Regions from separate parts of the Homo sapiens genome. Here region 2 is linked to region 1. Evidence: promoter capture Hi-C in 16 types of primary human blood cells and fetal thymus (Javierre and others, 2016). All regions are on one chromosome and are shown on one strand. Each heading gives the region's core, a stretch centred on a gene start or on the middle of the fragment in contact. The rest is flanking DNA. Distances are from core to core; before and after follow the strand shown. Region 1 holds the start of MOB4 (MOB family member 4, phocein). Region 2 has its middle 56 kb from the start of PGAP1.

Region 1 (2,700 bases), core at 77-2,576:
TATGTAACGGATAAATTTCCAGTAGTATGAAAACAAAACTGTCAGTAGGAATAACTGACAGCTTAATGTGACTCCAAAATAAGACTTTAAAATTTTCTCTGAAATTCAGCACTAGAAGCAGCTTGTTAAAGAGAACAGGTCACCAGTGAATTAAGAATCAGGAGACTATGTATCCTTGGGCAAATCCACTTAATTCTCTTGGGCTTCAGTTTCCTTATCTGTAACATGAATCTGGGGAGGTAATCAATACCTGTATGCCCCCTTCGAAAGGTGTTCTTTCCATAATTCTGTATAAGAAATTAAAATCTATTCTCAGACATACAATCATAGCTCCACGATTGTTTTGTTTCAATTTTCATTTGCATCACTTTTTAACATTTTATAAACACATCTCTTCCGATTTCAGAGCATCTAGTCTATAGCAAGCCATTTCGGCTAGCAATTAATCAGTTCAAGTCTGGATGCCAATTTTATTTATTTATTTTTAATGTGAGGCATCCCATCTTTTCCAAACCCTAAGAAACAATGCCTAATCAAGCACCAATTTACCACACATAATGCCCTACAAAAAAGCTGACAAAATTATAATCAGTTCATTCTCTGACTATGCTTCACGCATATTAGCAAGGAATGACATCTAACAAGTCACAACTTAGTGATGAAAACTTGCTGGACCAGAGAACAGCTCCAGGGAAAGCGGCAGGGAGAGGTGGTCAAAGGGAAACAAGGAGGAGAATATCGGCACCCGGATCCGGCTAGACAAGCTGGATGGCAGGAAACGGGTAGGTACTTCCCAGGCCAGGTAGGAACTGGACGCCGGGTCGAGGTAGGCTGTGTTTACACCCCCTCCCACCTCAGCGGCCCCGACCTTCAGGAAACCCCGGGGGTCTCCACCAGGCTGGTCGCGCCCCTCCAATGCTAGTCAGCTGGGGCTCAGGGGCAAGGCGAGAAGAAGCCGTTGCTGCTGACAGGCTCGCAGCCCAGGGCTTCGGCAGGCAGGTACCACCAGCAGACCCCACCCGCCCCTCACGCCTACCCCTGGGTCGGAGCTCCGCAGGCCTCACGGCGGCCGCCACCGCCTCAGCCAAATTGAGGGGCTGCAGCTCCGGAAGAGCAGGCCGGGCACCAGTGCCCCAGCCCGCCCGCCTGCCGCCTCGGCCCAACCTCCCCGCAGTGGCGGCCAGCTTCCGGGCGCAGCACTGCTCGGCACCTAGTTGCCCGACAAGAAAAGTGCAGACATGGTACCTGCGCCTTGGTGCCCGGCCTGTTCCGCCTCAGCACTGCCGTCCCCTCCGCCATGACCATAGTGCCAGCGTCTAGGCGGCTGGAGTCGGTACCCGGATGTAGGGACGGCAGCCTGCGCGGGGGGCGGGGCAGAGCGGCGCTCTGCGTCTGGGAGGAGGAGCGGCAGCTGACGGAACAGCTGCAGCCTGCGCCGGGAGCCGTCCGGGTAGAAGCGGGCTAGGCGGAGGGAGAGGGCGAACGAGGAACAGCCGGACGGCGTCGGGTGGCTACTGGCAGGGACTGAGGCACCGGAAGGCGGGCGCCACGAGCCTCTTTGCGAGGGCTGCGGGGCGGTTTGAAAGGTCGTGATCGCAGCGACCGCTGCGGCAGTGTGCACGGCTGCGTTGCACGTTGGTATGGGCTCTCGTTAGTTACACGGGAAGAACGAACTTCGTATAGTGGCGACCGTTTCAGTAAACCCACCTGCAAGCAAATACTTAGAGAACCGTAATTCTGTCCCAGAAGCCACCTAAGGAATCAGGGTAGAAAACAGGCCAGCAGTCTTGGCAAATTCTATAGAACCTGCGTGAAATCGACCCAATCTGAAATCAGACGGGGGATTTGAGTGTCAGTGTTATTTACGCCATCCGGCGACTTCAAAGCCAAGGACTTTTTCAATGACAAGTTTGTTTACGTAGATAAAAGACGCAGATGTCAATTATGTGAGATGAAGAGTGGACATCTGGTTTTGTGCGTTAGGCAGACAGATTTAGCTCGTGTTTTTCAAGTCAGAAGCAGGAGGAGGAAATTAGTAGTCCTTGACAGGTGGTGAGGGTTTTACATCTTACAGGATTCCACATTTCCTTTGTTGCAAATTTTAAGTGTTCTCTCTTAAGAAACCACAGCATTTTCGCAAACTTTTTTTCCTGCTTAGAAACCTTGAATCTTTTATCTGGGGTGAGGGAGGCCTTGGGATAGCAGATGGGAAGACAGTTCAAAAAGTAAAAAACGCATACAGTAGCATGATTTCCAAAAGAAGAAAACATCAAGTGTCCCTAGATAGAAGGTGTATTGAGAATGCTGAGGGAAGGGCCATGTAACAGCTTCCAGAAATGGAATTTGAGAGGAGAGGAGAGGTTGAGTGGGTCTCTAGCTGAGTAATTGTCAGTGACTTAGAACTAGGCATTGAAGGGTTTAACAACAGGAAGTTGGTTCTCTCTGGAAGATGTATTGACTGGTAACTCTTCAAGAATAGGGACTTAATTTTGCCCTCCCAGAACCAGCGTCTACATATGAAAAGATTATTCGTTCAACAGATACTCATTAAGCCCCACTATATGGTAGGCACTAATGTACAAGTATGATAAGGCTCAGTCCTTCACTACAAATTGCCTTGACTCCAGCAACAGAGACGTGCAAATCACAAATTCTTATACAGGTTAAGTACCCCTCATCTTAAAGTTTGGGACCAAAACA
Region 2 (2,700 bases), core at 188-2,687, 530 kb after region 1:
GAAGCAGTACTTTTAGAGCACAAAAAGCTTACCTGTGTTTGCATTGAGTTGAAAGTACCCAGCAAATTCGTGAACTTTATTTATATTTTTTATAGTTGGGGTTCCTAAGAATTACTAACATTTAAACTCAGATCCTAACCACAAGAAATTACCAGCTATGCAAAGATCAGAGGAGAGAACATTCTAGGGAGAGGAAAAGGCTAGTGCCAATACCCAAAGGCAGGAATGAGTTTGTTATGTTCTAGGAACAGAAATGGGGCCAGTGTGGCTGGAGACTCAAGGGAAAGGGAGGGTGGCAGAAGATTAACAGCGATCTCAGCCCAGACATAAAATTTTGTGAGCTGGGAGGAGTTTCTATATTTTTCTGAATGTGACAAAAGCCACTGGAGAAATGTAAGCAGAAAAATGGCTGTGGTCTGATTTTTTTTTTCTGTCATTTTTATTTTTTATTTTTTATTTTTATTTTAAGTTCTGGGGTACATGTGCAGAACATACAGAATTGTTACATAGGTATACATGTGCCATGGTGGTATGCTGCACCTATCAACCCGTCATCTAGGTTTTAGGCCCCGCATGCATTAGGTATTTGTCCTAATGCTCTCCCTCCCCTTACCCCAACCCACCAACAGGCCCTGGTGTGTGATATACCCCTCCCTGTGTCCATGTGTTCCCATTGTTCAACTCCCACTTATGAGTGAGAACATGTGGTGTTTGATTTTCTGTTCCTGTGTTAGTTTGCTGAGAATGATGGCTTCTAGCTTCATCCATGTCCCTGTAAATGACATGAACTCATTCTTTTTTATGGCTGCATAGTATTCTATGGTGTATATGTGCCACATTTTCTTTATCCAGTGATTTCATTTTTAAAAGATCACTCTGGCTGCTGTTGAGAGACAAGAGAGAGAAACCCTAGTGACCAATTAGGTAGCCACTGCAATAGCCTAGACAAGTAAATATAGTGGCTTGGATTGTCTGGCAACAAGGGAAATGAAGAGACTGTGACACATTTTGGATATGTCTTGAAGGTAGAGTTGACTGAATTTGCTGATGGCTTGAGTCAAGTAAACAGTAGAGTTTGGGGAAGAAGCCAGGGCTGGGATCATATGAAATTGTAGACATGTGAAAGTTGATTTGGAGTCATTCCTGTCCTACCCAATGAAAATGGAGTCAAGGAGCCTTTGTTGGGAAAGAGCACTCTGGTCACAAACGTCTTCCAAAAACTGTCTCGCAAGTTTACTCCAAGGAAACAGCCTGCTATGACTTCAAGGCGAACTTTACCTAGCAGTTGCTGCCACCTGCCAATCAGAGCTCACCAGCGCCCACTCTGCTATCGCCAATTAACTTTCTTTGAAAACAACTTACATCTTCTTTCTCCTTTCCCAATAAAACTCCAGCCCTTTCCTTTGTTCTTTGGACACACTGGAAACTGCCCTGGTCTCTGTGTGCATGTCCTTATTGCAAGCCTACTTTCTGTATATTACTCTCAAATAAAATCCTCTTGCTTAGAGATTTGTCTCTGCATATATATATATATATATATAATTTTTTTTAGTATTGACAAATGAGAAGAGATTCCCTCAGGAATAAATGATAGAAGAGCCCTGAACTGTGCACACTCCAGCATTTAGAGGTTAGGAAGGGGAGGAGGAGGATCTAGCAGCGAAGACAAGACATAATGGTCAGAGGCAGGAGGAAAACCAAGAGACCAAGATGTCCCTGAAACCTGGGAAATAAAGGGTCATAGAAGAAGGAGTGTCAGTGATTTCTATTGTCTCAATTGCTTCTGGGAAGTCAAATGCAGAGAAGTTGACCAATGGATTTGGCAAGATAGAGTTCATTTATGTATTTATTTTATTATTATTATTATTTTGAGATGGAGTTTCACTCTTGTTGCCCAGGCTGGAGTACAATGGTGCGATCTCAGCTCACTGCAACCTCCACCTCCAGGGTCAAGCGATTCTCCTGCCTCAGCCTCTCAAGTAGCTGGGACTACAGGCACACACCACCACACTTGGCGGATTTTTAAAAAAATTTTTAGTAGAGATGGGGTTTTGCCATGTTAGCCAGGCTGGTCTCGAACTCCCAACCTCAGGTGATCCACCTGCCTCAGCCTCCCACACTGCTGGGATTATAGGTGTGGGCCACCACGCCCAGCCTGGAGAGAACATTTTAGAGTAACAGAGGAGGGTTACTGAGTAGGATTTAGTACACTCAAGATTTATAATCATAAATCTAAAATGATACCAGTCATCCTGGTGGATTTTTTCATCAGATGTTTGGGTGTAGGCATAGAGTAAGAAGACAGTGGAATTTAACCTGGTATAGAGCTTTGCTAGGTAAGTCCAAAGGGAGAGAGGGTTATGGAACTGTGGTGCTTTTAATGGATGTGATTATGTAGATCATGGATTCTAAACTGGGTAAGGAAGAAAGTGAAAACATGAGGGAGGTGATGGATACTGAAAAAGTGGTAGTCAATGGGGGTCAGGATAAGACAGAATTATTGAATTGTAGCCCCAGAGTTGGTGATCTTGATGTGGAGTGCCCAAAGTAAAGATTTCACAGGTGGTATAGTTTTGAGGATGACAAAGCAAAGGATATAACCATGGGAGTGGGTGGTTGAGAATGACTGAAGAAAAAAAAGCATTGGATGTGAAGAAGTAAAAATCTGAGGAGGCCAACATGACAAATAGGAAAAGCTAT

Evidence for each region. Contacts are between HindIII fragments. The CHiCAGO score rates a contact against its expected background, and 5 or more counts as called.
Region 2: a fragment that was not itself captured here is called in contact with the fragment with the promoter of MOB4 in region 1 in 1 of 17 cell types (monocytes); the score reaches 5.7 in monocytes.

What each region holds. Positions count from the first base shown.
Region 1 is chr2:197,514,692-197,517,391 of GRCh38, reverse strand. MOB4 (MOB family member 4, phocein) reads right to left here and starts at 1,326. Exons shown (of 8, transcript NM_015387.5): 1 at 1,246-1,326. The coding sequence starts at 1,305. All of the region lies in intron 2 of HSPE1-MOB4 (HSPE1-MOB4 readthrough), which reads right to left. RefSeq lists a silencer at 1,268-1,487. The HindIII fragment of the contact is 18,120 bases long and covers 1-2,700 here.
Region 2 is chr2:196,980,950-196,983,649 of GRCh38, reverse strand. It overlaps a transcript of ANKRD44 not described here. Among named protein-coding and RNA genes, the nearest start is that of PGAP1, 56 kb to the right of the region's middle. The HindIII fragment of the contact is 2,815 bases long and covers 30-2,700 here.